Linked DNA regions of Homo sapiens: region 2 is linked to region 1. Evidence: promoter capture Hi-C in human tissues and cell types (Jung and others, 2019). All regions are on one chromosome and are shown on one strand. Each heading gives the region's core, a stretch centred on a gene start or on the middle of the fragment in contact. The rest is flanking DNA. Distances are from core to core; before and after follow the strand shown.

The links. The method cuts DNA at HindIII sites, captures the fragments that hold promoters and counts their contacts. A contact is called where the count stands out against the background at its distance.
Region 2: a contact is called between a fragment that was not itself captured here and the fragment with the promoter of KLHDC7A in region 1, in 1 of the 25 tissues and cell types used here (pancreas).

What each region holds. Positions count from the first base shown.
Region 1 is chr1:18,477,184-18,483,171 of GRCh38, forward strand. It overlaps KLHDC7A (kelch domain containing 7A), which reads left to right and starts at 3,747. Exons shown (of 1, transcript NM_152375.3): 1 at 3,747-5,988. The coding sequence starts at 3,799. RefSeq lists enhancers at 2,825-3,697, 3,698-4,569. The HindIII fragment of the contact is 16,937 bases long and covers 1-5,988 here.
Region 2 is chr1:18,525,942-18,532,442 of GRCh38, forward strand. No RefSeq gene overlaps it. Among named protein-coding and RNA genes, the nearest start is that of KLHDC7A, 48 kb to the left of the region's middle. The HindIII fragment of the contact is 3,693 bases long and covers 730-4,422 here.

The DNA.
Region 1 (5,988 bases), core at 2,497-4,996:
CTTCTCCAAGGGTAAAGACATATGACATATGAACATATGACAGCCACCAGTGGGACAGGCTGAGGACACCTACTTCCTAAGAGGTCACACCTGCTGGATGAAGTCAGGTCTGTAAAACTCTGGACTCTGCAAACAAGGTTTTGGGTCCCCATTTACAAGCCAGTTGACATAATCTTGGAGGTCCAGTTACCCCTGCTGTCAAATGGGGATAACAAACATGTCTCTCCCCAAAGGGGCTGTGAGCATGAGATGGGATGAGATGAGCTTCATACCCCTACCAGTGGAATGGTAGCCTGGCCCCTCATCAGCCTCAACAAAGCATTTTTCACCCCTGGAAAAATCATTTTTATTGCCCCAAACACCTCATTCTCTAGTTTCTAGATGAAGACAATGGGCTGTGCAGCAAGAAACATTATAAATCAGGATTTGTCACTCTCAGTCCATTGGCATTGTCTCTCTTAGCCTCGATGTCCTGATCTGTAAAATGGGGACAATGATAATAACCACCTCTCCAGATTACTGGGAAAATTAAATAATTTTACTTATACAAAGCACCCAGGACTTCATTCCCATTCTGTTACTCACCTTGAGTATGTAACCAAGAGGAATTGATTATGTAACTTGAGAGGAACTGCTCACCCACCATCCAAGAATGAACAGGAATTTTCAGCAGACAAGTAGAAAAGCTAACTTATTTTTAATTCCTAGGCTCACTAAAAACTCCTGAGATGATTGTTAAAAATGGAGGTTTCCTGGGACCCACCCAGCCCACTGAATCAGGACATCTAAAAGGTAGAGCTTAGAAATTTGCATCCCTGGCTTGGCGTGGTGGCTCACATCTGTAATCCCAGCACTTTGGGACGCCAAGGCGGGTGGATCACCCGAGGTCAGGAGTTCGAAACCAGCCTGACTAATATAGTGAAACCCCATCACTGCTGAAAATACAAAAATTAGCCAGGCGTGGTGGTGTGCACCTATAGTCCCAGCTACTCAGGAGGCTGAGACAGGAGAATTGCTTGAACCTGGGAAGCGGAGGTTGCAGCGAGCCAAGATCATGCCACTGCACTCTAGCCTGGGTGACAGAGTGAGACTTCATCTCAAAAAAAAAAAAAAAACCCAGCCTGGTCAACATGGTGAAACCCCGTCTCTACTAAAAATACAAAAATTAGCTGGGCGTGGTGGTGCATGCCTGTAATCCCACCTACTCGGGAGGCTAAGGCAGGAGAATCGTTTGAACCCTGGAGACAGAGGTTGCAGTGAGCTGAGATTGTGCCATTGCACTCCAGCCTGGGTGACACTCTGTCTCAAAAAAGAAAGAGAAAAAGAAAGAAAGGGAGAAAGGGAGAGAGAGAGAGAGAGTTAAGAAGGAGGGAAGGAAGGAAGGGAGGGAGGGAGGGAAGGGAAGGGAGGGAGGGAGGGAGGAAAGAAGGGAGGGAGGAAAGAAGGGAGGGAGGGAGGAAGGAAGGAAGGAAGGAAGGAAGGAAGGAAGGCAGGCAGGCAGGCAGGCAGGCAGGCAGGCAGGCAGGCAGGCAGGCAGGCAAGCTGCATCTCTAACAAGCACCCCTTGTGATCCTTGTGCACATTGCATTGATAGGCACTCTTTTGACCAGGATGGAAAGAAAGAGAATTCAGGGGACCCCTCTTGACAGCTACCAGTGGGACAGGCTGAGGACACCTGACTTTCTAAGAGGTCACACCTGCTGGATGAAGTCAGGTCTGTAAAACTCTGGACTCTGCAAACAAGGTTTTGAGTCCCCATTTACAAGCCAGTTGACATAATCTTGGAGGTCCAGTTACCGCTGCTGTCAAATGGGGATAACAATCGTGTCTCTCCCCAAAGGGGCTGTGAGCATGAGACGAGATGAGATGAGCTTCATCCCGAGTGTTCACCCCAATCCACTCAGTGTAAAGACAATCCCTGCTGGCTATTGTCCCAAATGGTGCAGGGCCCCACATAGGCTTAGGGTCCACAGCTGAGCCAGCTACAGCCTCTGTCCTCAAGGACTTAGAATGCAGCAGACCAGATCTTGCACACAATGCACTTTACGATGCAGCAGCTGTGGCCAAGCCTAAAAGAGGAGCATCAGAGAACACGAGACCCAAAGGAAGAAAAGGTGATCTTGGACGGATGAAGGCACCAGGGAAGAAGGCCCAGACACAGCCTTTTACCCAACTCTGATGGGCCAGAGGGATGTCCACCAGCCTTCCCTGCCAAGAAGTCACCCTGAGCCCGGTTTGCTAGGCAGTGATCAGGAGATGCATCTGGAAGAGTAAACCGAAGCTGGTACACAGAGAGTTGTGAACGTCGGCATAGGGAGTCAGGATTGTCTCCTAGAGTCAAAGCCTTCAGAGCCAAATTCCTCCCATGCGTGTGCTTCCTGTGGCCCACAGTGTTTTTCAGTTTCATTTTTGAATCAGATGCCAACATTTTAAAATTGAGAGTGATTATGTCACTACTGGGATTCTAAGCTTTTTGCGACAGTGGGAGGATGAGGCAATGCTGGGCCTGATACCATCGGCTGGGGTGGGGCGGACAGACGTCCTTACTTGTTCACTTTACCTACCCAGCCTCCATATGCAGCAAGAGTTTGAGACCCCTGCACAGGACTTTGGGGACTCTTTGAGGACCTTGGTCAGGAGAAGGGTAGAATTAGTTCTGTGCTTTGGAAGGTCCTCTGATGACAATTGATACTAGCGATGATGGTGCCGATGATCAGAAAGAGGAAAAGGAGGAAGAAGCAGAGAATAGTTCATATTTACTAAGCTTTCATGATGGGGGCTCTGCCCCAGTGTTTATTCCTAGTAGCCCATTTAGTTCTCCCCACAAGCTGATGAGGTGCGTATGCTGTCATCCTCCTTTTTCAGACAAAGCACAGAGCGGTGAGGTCTCTTGCCTAAGGTCATATAGTTGGTAAGTAGCAGAGCCAGGTAGTCTGGGTCCAGGACCCACAGCACTGGTGATGGGGGAGGGGAAATGGTGAGGGGGGGTCTGGGAGACGTGAGTCTTCCCTCAATCTTTCACCGTAGGAGATTGTCTGGTTTTAAAAGAGAAGATGTGTCCACATCTAACCCCGATCTGAGCACTAATGCAATGTCTTTCTCCACTGTTCTCAGAAAGGCTGGTTTTTCTTAATAAACTTGTCAGGCAGGGAAGGAGGGCAGAGGCACTCAAGGGCCGGCTCAGGTGGCTTGGCTGCATGCCCTGGCTCCAGACTCCACTGCCATGTTCCCGTTCCCTGCTTGGCCAGCATAAAGTTGACCCCACTGTGAGGACCAGCAGACCTCACAAGAATGACCCCATCCACGCCTACTGGGGCTCCACCTGCCCATGACTCACCACACCCAAGCCTCTGAGCCCAGTGGACTTGCAAAAGAGAAAATAAAGCACACACATAAAGAATAACCAACCCCATGCATTTCCTGGCATCGGGTGACTGTTTGGTTAAGAGCTTCCTCCTCTTTTGTATGCCCACTGGATACTCCTAACATCCCCTAGCTGCTGACCACAGAGCTGGCTTAGGTGGCTGATCACAAGCTCAGCCCCTGGGCGGGCCCCCCACCCCAGCCACCAGGGAAGCATGGAAGGAGGCCAGCCGCTGGGATCTGCCAGCTCTGGGCCCCAGCGGCCACCCTCTGCAGCTCAAAGTCACCTTTGCTCCTCTCCTCTCCTCGGCTGGCCAGCCAGAACCAGCCCAGAACTCCCTCCCCTCCGCTCAGCAGGACCCAGGAACTGGTCCCTACTGGGCAATTATTAATCAGATTCTTGACATTCCTCAGCCCCAGGTTGGCTGGAGAAGCATGTTCCCCAGAGGAGCAGAGGCCCAGGACTGGCATTTGGATATGCAGCTGACCGGCAAGGTGGTGCTGTCAGCCGCTGCCCTGCTCCTGGTGACTGTGGCCTACAGGCTGTACAAGTCGAGGCCTGCCCCAGCCCAGCGGTGGGGTGGGAATGGCCAGGCAGAAGCCAAGGAGGAAGCAGAGGGCTCAGGGCAGCCTGCTGTACAGGAGGCTTCTCCTGGGGTGCTCCTGAGGGGGCCAAGACGTCGGAGGAGCAGCAAGCGGGCTGAAGCACCACAGGGCTGCAGCTGTGAGAATCCAAGAGGCCCCTATGTCCTGGTCACGGGGGCCACTTCCACAGACAGGAAGCCCCAGAGAAAAGGCTCAGGTGAGGAGCGGGGCGGGCAGGGCTCGGACTCTGAGCAGGTGCCTCCTTGCTGCCCCAGCCAGGAAACCAGAACAGCTGTTGGCAGTAACCCTGACCCTCCCCATTTCCCCCGCTTGGGCAGCGAACCGAAGAGCTCCCCAGCTGGACTCATTGCAGCAGCCGACGGCAGCTGTGCCGGTGGTGAGCCTTCTCCATGGCAGGACAGTAAACCCCGTGAGCATCCAGGACTGGGGCAACTAGAACCTCCCCACTGTCACTACGTGGCTCCCTTGCAAGGCAGCAGTGACATGAACCAGAGCTGGGTCTTCACCCGTGTGATAGGGGTCAGCAGAGAAGAGGCTGGGGCTCTCGAGGCTGCCTCCGATGTTGACCTGACCCTGCATCAGCAGGAGGGCGCCCCCAACTCCTCCTATACCTTCTCATCCATAGCCCGCGTCCGAATGGAGGAGCATTTCATACAGAAGGCGGAGGGGGTTGAGCCCCGGCTCAAGGGCAAGGTGTACGACTACTATGTGGAATCTACCTCTCAGGCCATCTTCCAGGGCAGGCTGGCTCCCAGGACAGCAGCCCTGACTGAGGTTCCATCCCCTAGGCCACCGCCAGGGTCCCTGGGAACAGGGGCTGCCTCGGGAGGCCAAGCCGGTGACACAAAGGGTGCAGCCGAAAGAGCCGCCTCCCCGCAGACAGGGCCGTGGCCCTCCACCCGAGGCTTCAGCCGGAAGGAGAGCCTTCTGCAGATAGCGGAGAACCCAGAGCTGCAGCTGCAGCCAGATGGCTTCCGGCTCCCCGCTCCACCCTGCCCAGACCCGGGCGCCCTGCCTGGCTTAGGCAGAAGCAGCCGGGAGCCCCATGTGCAGCCGGTGGCCGGGACCAATTTCTTCCATATCCCGCTCACCCCTGCTTCAGCCCCACAGGTCCGCCTGGATCTGGGCAATTGCTATGAGGTGCTGACCTTGGCCAAGAGGCAGAACCTGGAGGCCCTGAAAGAGGCGGCCTACAAGGTGATGAGCGAAAACTACCTGCAGGTGCTGCGCAGCCCGGACATCTACGGGTGCCTGAGCGGGGCAGAGCGCGAGCTGATCCTGCAGCGCCGGCTCCGGGGCCGCCAGTACCTGGTGGTGGCTGACGTGTGCCCCAAGGAAGACTCCGGCGGCCTCTGTTGCTATGACGATGAGCAGGATGTCTGGCGCCCGCTGGCTCGCATGCCCCCCGAGGCCGTGTCCCGGGGCTGTGCCATCTGCAGTCTCTTCAATTATCTCTTCGTGGTGTCCGGCTGCCAGGGGCCCGGGCACCAGCCCTCCAGCCGCGTCTTCTGCTACAACCCGCTCACGGGGATCTGGAGCGAGGTGTGCCCGCTGAACCAGGCCCGGCCGCACTGCCGGCTGGTGGCCCTGGACGGGCACCTGTATGCCATCGGCGGAGAGTGTCTGAACTCGGTGGAGCGTTACGACCCCCGCCTGGACCGCTGGGACTTTGCCCCGCCGCTCCCCAGTGACACGTTCGCCCTGGCGCACACGGCCACGGTGCGTGCCAAGGAAATCTTCGTCACCGGCGGCTCGCTGCGCTTCCTGCTGTTCCGCTTCTCTGCGCAGGAGCAGCGCTGGTGGGCCGGCCCCACCGGGGGCAGCAAGGACCGCACGGCCGAGATGGTGGCGGTCAACGGCTTTCTCTACCGCTTTGACCTCAACCGCAGCCTGGGCATCGCCGTGTACCGCTGCAGCGCCAGCACCCGGCTCTGGTACGAGTGCGCCACGTACCGGACGCCTTACCCGGATGCCTTCCAGTGCGCCGTGGTGGACAACCTCATCTACTGCGTGGGACGC
Region 2 (6,501 bases), core at 1,326-3,825, 48 kb after region 1:
CTTTCCACAAATGTCTTGATATAGATCCCTGAAATCTCTTCCTTGCATTTCCCCAGCAGAGGTCAGGCACTTTGCCAAGGGGACTCTTGGGTACCTACCTATTGTTCCCAGACCAAGTTTGAACAATCCCAGTTGTTCCCAAACTTTAGTGTGCATCAGAATCACCCGGAAAGCCTGTTAAAATGCTGACTGCAGGGCCCCAGCCTCAGGGTTTCTGGTCCAGCAGGTCTGGGTGTCCCAAGGACCTGCATTCCTAGCATGTTCCCAGTTGATGCTGATACAGCACCTTGGGGACCACACTTTGAGAACCACTGCCTTTACCCATTTCCAACTTTTTGCTTTTCTGCTTTTGACCTTCCTGCCTGTCCTCCAAATCCTTACTTTTCCACTGTTTCTTTTTTTCAATCTGTTTTTTTTATTTTATTATTATTATACTTTAAGTTTTAGGGTACATGTGCACAATGTGCAGGTTAGTTACATATGTATACATGTGCCATGCTGGTGTGCTGCACCCATTAACTCGTCATTTAGCATTAGCCACTGTTTCTTACATGTCTCCTAACTTGACTTTCCGCCCAAGCCCTTGGCTCCTCCGAGCTCCAGTGCAGCCATGCTACCTGTGGCCTTCATGACTAGACTCCCCCACCCAGCTCTGCCCCAGGAGGAAGGCACCAGCTGTGGCTCTCATGGGGCCTTTTACTTTTTAAGAACCCCTCTACATGATTCACCTTACATGTTGGAGAGGATTCTCTGTCCACACTAAGTGCTTATCAGAGAATAATCAAAGAGACTTCTCTTGTGTTGAGCAAGGGGATCCTGGGGTTAGAAATGCCCCCTACATCTCACTTCAGCCACAGAGGAAGCCCTATCTCACATATCAGGAAACTGAGCTGCACATCAGTTAGTGACTAGTCCAGAAAGGGTCCTGCTGGTTCACGACAGAGATGAGTGTCCCAGCCAGGTCTTCTGATGCCAGGTTCCTTGCTCTTCCCACTTGCAATCAGCTTCTGTATCTGTTGGGAATGCTTTCAGCTGCAACTAACATAATCCCCAGGTAACAGTGGCCGAAACCCACCAAGGTGCATTTTTCTCATTCATGGTCATGTATTTTCTTAGAAGTCTGGAGGTAAGATGTTTTAGGACTAGGTCAGTGGTTCACTGATTATCAGGGCACAGGCGGCCTTTGCAATTCTCTGACCTTTATCTCAGGATCACAAGATTGCAGTCACAGTTCAGGGATAGTATTCTCCCTATGGCCATGTTAAAGCCAGCACATAGGGGCTTACAAGATGCAGATTTTCCCCTGACTTGTTTCTCTCTTATGAAGGAGGAAGCTCCCTCTCCCAGCTGATTTCCCCTTACACCCATTAGCCAGAACTAGACAGGCAGGGAAGTTCTGCTATCAAAGAGAAAAGATGGTGATAGCTTTGGGGCAAGCAACCAAGACGGTGTACCACAGCATCCTCCTGAAATAAGTGTCCCACAGGATTCTGGAAGCTTCTGGATGGCCAACACATTCAAGCCTATTGGACTGTAAAACCGCTGATCTGTGTCCTAGTCTTCTTTCTGTTCTCAGTGTCTGACACACTAAATCTGTGCATTCAACACACATCAATTCATTCCCATGTGCCTGCTACGTATCAAACACTGCAGCAGGCATTGGACCAGGATGGCATAGTAGAAAGGGCATGAGCTTTAGAATCAGACCGGATTATCTTCAAATCTCACCATTTTCAAGCTGTGTGACCTCAGGCAAGCCGCTTCACCTCTCTGTGCCTCACTTTTGTCATTGCAGAGTGGTCATGAAGACTTAACACACATCAGGCACGGGACACATAGTCATTCAATGGATGAGAGCTGATGATAATGACCTAAGAAGGGGTGGCACATGGCACACTGGCCACACCCTCAATTAACACACTGCCAAGTCTCAGGACTCACAACCCAGCAAAAGAGATAGACAACAAAACACAAAATCACAGCGTAATGGGACAGGAGTGGAGATGGCACTAAAACAACACAGAGAAGGGGGTGGCCAATGCATCTACGCACTTACAACAGCTTTCCCACACAGCACCTTAGCAAGCGGGTCTGATCTATCTCACCACTGGGCGGGGGGGGGGGGGGGGGTGGTGGGGGCAAAGGGATGAGTCACCATCATGCAGAGCTTCAGTTCCTTTGGAAAGCCACCATGAAAAACATGGAATGAGGCCAGGTGTGGTGGCTCATGCCTGTAATCCCAGGACTTTGGGAGGCCTGGGCGGGAGGATTGCTTGAGGCCAGGAATTTCAGACCAATGTGGGCAACATTGTGAGACCTCCTCTTTATAAAAAATAAAATAAAATAAGCTGGGCATGGTGGTGTGGACCTGTAGTCCCAGCTACTTGGGAGGTTGAGGCAGGAGGATCACTTGGGTCTGGGACGTTGAGGATGCAGTGAGCATGATCATGCCACTGCATGCCATCGTGAGTGACAGACCAAGACCCTGTCTCAAAAATAAAAAATCTAGGAGATAGGCATGATGATTAACTCCATTATCAGTTGAAGAAACAGAGGCACAGGGAGGTAATACATTTGAACCCCAGGCCCCAACTCTGGAGCCTGTGTTCTCACCATTACGTTACACTGCCTCCCTGAGATGGGTTACAAGGCATCTTCCCTGCTCAAGGACTCTGTTTGGCAGATGCCATTTGCTTACCTGGGGGATATCCAGGTGAGGCTGGATTTGAATGTATTCCCACCATGAAGAGCGGCTGGCAAGGCCTCATCACACCTCAACTCCCTGCCTAGTCCAGATAGGAGGGGGATTCTGTACTCCATTCTGTACTTCCAAGGGGATGTGGGCAGAATGGCACAGGCCCAAGTGATGCCAGTGGTACCTCAGCTCTTGGCAGTATTTCTTCTTCATTGTCGTTGAAGTCCTGAATTCCCAGGCCATGCTGCAGGATCCTCCATCCCTTTCCTGGCCCCTCATCTACACCAGCTTCTAGGCTGGGCACCAGATACAGGCAGAGATGTTGTACCAGATTCAACCTCAGCCCCTGAAGGGCTCAAGATCTAGGAAAGAACACAAAAGACCAATGTTTGCAAGGCTGCCTGCAGAAGCTTAGAGGAAGACATCTCACCCAGCCTTGGAGAAATGATGGTTAGGGGAGTCTACAGTGAGATACTGCAAGATACCGCACACTGGCTCATGAACAGAGCCCAGCCAGGTGAAGCATTTGGGAGAGGTGATAATAATAACAGCAAACACTTACTGTGGCAGGCGCCTGTCTAAACACTCCACTGAAGTTAATTCACCAGGATTCAGAAACAACCCAGTAAGGTAGGTGATAGGATTTGGCTGCGTCCCCACCCAAATCTCATCTTGAATTGTAGCTCCCATAATTCCAACGTGCTGGGGGAGAAACCCAGTGGGAGACAATTGAACCTTGGGGGCAGTTCCCCCATACTGTTCTCACGGCAGTGACTAACTCTCACAAGATCTGACAGTTTTGTAAGGGGAAACCCCTTTCACTTGTCTCTCATTCTCTCTCTTACCTGCTGCCATGTAAGACATGTCTTTCTCCTTCCACCATGATTGTGAGTCCTCCCCAGCCACACGGAACTGTAAGTCCGTTAAACTTCTTTTTCTTTATAAATTACCCAGTCTTGGGTATGTCTTTATCAGCAGTGTGAAAATGGACTAATATAGTAGGTATGCCTATCATCTCCATTTTAGAGATAGGAAACTGAGGCACAGAAAGGTTAAAGAGCTTGTCCAATATCATTGAAATAGTAGACAGTGAAGCCAGCATCTGGTTCTGGCCTCTGGGCTCTCAACCTCCACACCATGCTGGAGAGTGTTCCCTGCTGAACAGCAGCTCCTGCAAAGGCCTGGGCACCTGGCAGCAAGGTCCACCCAGGGCAGCCAACAGTGGTGAGGCTGGAGAGACCAGCAGTCAGCTTTTGTTCACTGACACAGCTATGGAGCGGGCTGACAGCAGTCCAACCATGCACCATGCGGGAAAGCCGGTCAGTTCTCTCCACTCCCCTGGCTGATTGACAGCAGACCCATAGACTCAATCCCCAAAGACCTAACCCTGATTCCAGCCCCAGCCTGAACCCAGCCTCGGTTTCTGCAAAACCTTCCCCAGTTAATTAGATACATGGAGATCATCCAACCCACCAGGCAGTTTTCCACACTCCCTCCTCACTGTCTGCTCTCACCCCTGCCTGGTCTGGTATCCATAATGCATTTTCACAACTTATGTATGCCCTTTATGGGATCTTTTAATATCTCTCCTCAAACCACACCTGGCTAATTTGCTAAGCACTGAACCAAAATCCAGAACCACCCAGCAGATAAATTAAGGAACAACTGTTTCCCTTTCAGGAAGATGGACCAAAAAAGTCACCAAACAGCAAACTCTTTTTCAATGCCAGTGCATTATAGAAGGATTCTATTTTTAAATCAATCCACAAATGTTTGTCCTATTGATTTTGTTGATTTGTTTATATATACCCTGTCTCATTCCACTAAAAAAAAGGCTTGTGCAAGTTTCAAAATACATGTAACAATTACAATAAATAGATGTAGAGTCAGGACAAAGAAAAGCAAAGGTAGGAAATAAAATAATGCAAGGAGTTTTATTCAGCTTCAAAATATCCTGTACAGTTTGCTTTGGTTGGGTAGCTTGCTGAGTTTGAGCTTCCTGGTGGCCAAGGCAAGGACAAGTGTATTCATTAAACAGATTCCTAGGGCTCCACCATCAGTGGGGGGGCCTGCCATTCACCCACCCCTGATGGCACAGTTGCTTATCTTTGAACACAGATGGGCAATGGTCCCCAAGGCCCAGACAAGCCACCTTCTCGACCAGCGATGTCCCTTCCCCTGGGCTCCTAGAAGTTCTTACTCTTAAGATAAGAAGGGGTGGGCTACCCTCTTTTGAAGCCTCCTAGGTTCCAGGCATTGTGCCAAGTACTCTATGTGTCTTAACTTACCTAATCCCACATCTATGAGGTTCAAATTTCCAGCTCCAACATCTACTTGGAACCCAGGTTCTTCCAGAAATTACTGGTTACTTAGATGTCTCAAAGTCACACCGAACTCACTGTGTCTAAGTTGACCCCTCATAATCTCCCCATCCACTCATCCAGTCTCTTTCCTGTGCTTTGGGGCTTAGCGAATGTCGCCACCATCCGGTGGCTCAGGCCAGACCTGATGAATCATCCTTATCTCTGTCATGCCCATAAAACACCTACTATCAAGTGCTGCCAGCCTTACCTCCTAAACAGTTCCTGAAGCCCTCACTTCTCTTTACTGCATCTGCACCTCCCTCCCTTGACTGGCCACCTCCTCTTGTGTGAGCCCCTCCAAGAACTTCTCACCCTGGTTCCTCACATCAACTCTGGTTCCTCTAACACACCCTTCACTCTGAAGCCAGAATAATCTTGTCAAGACATAAAACACATCTGACTTCAGCAATCCTGATTAAAACCCCTCACTGGCTTCCCCTTATTCTTAAGATGGAGACCACAGCCCTCAGAGTGGAGAACAAATTGGCTCCTGTCCACCTCTCCGATTGCACTGCAAATCACAGCCCTATTGGCTCTTCTCCAGCCTCACTGGCCACCTCCTCCTTCACTGTGCCTAGGACGCTCCTTCATGCCATTCTGCTCATCCATCAGCTTTTCCTAGCCATCACCTCCTCTGGGGAGCCTTCTCTGACCCCCGTCACTAGTCAAATCCTGCTTAAGCTTTCCTAGTGCCCCACACCTCCCCTTTGAGGCCCTCATCCCAGCTGGGAGGATGGGAGCCCCTCAGGCTGGCCTCACTGTCTGCACTTACACCCTTTCCATAACAAGCAGTTGATTAGCCCTTGATAATATTTGTTGAATGTTGTTGAATGAATAGATTAGAGGCTTGTCACAGACCAAATGATGGCTGCTAAAGATATCAGGTCCTAATCCCTGGAACCTGTAAATATTACTGTACTTGGAAAAGGGTCTTAGCAGACGTGATTAGGTGAAGGATCTTGAGATGGGCAGATTATCCTGGATTATTCGGTGGACCTTAAAAGCCATCAAATGTATCCTTATAAGAGGGAGGCAGAGGGAGACTTGAGACACAGAGGAGAAGGTGATGTGAAGACAGGGCAGAGAGAGATTGGAAGACACTGGCCTTGCAGACTGGAGTGACAAAGCCACAAGACAAGAAGTGCCACAGCCACCTGAAGCCAGAAGATGCAAGAAGCAAATTCTCCCCTCGAGCTTCTGGAAGGAGCACAGCCCTGCACACACCTTGATTTCAGCCCATTGGTAGCCGATTTGGACTTCCGGCCTCCAGAACTTTGGAAGAATAAATGTGCGTTGTTTTAAGTCACTAAGTTTGCAGTAATGTGTTACAGCAGCCAAAAAGACCTAAGGTGAGGCTCACAGATGATGAAACCCAAGCTCAGAGAAGCTAAGTTATTTGCCCAAAGTCACATGGCTAGTCCAGCCCTGCCCTCCCCTCAATCT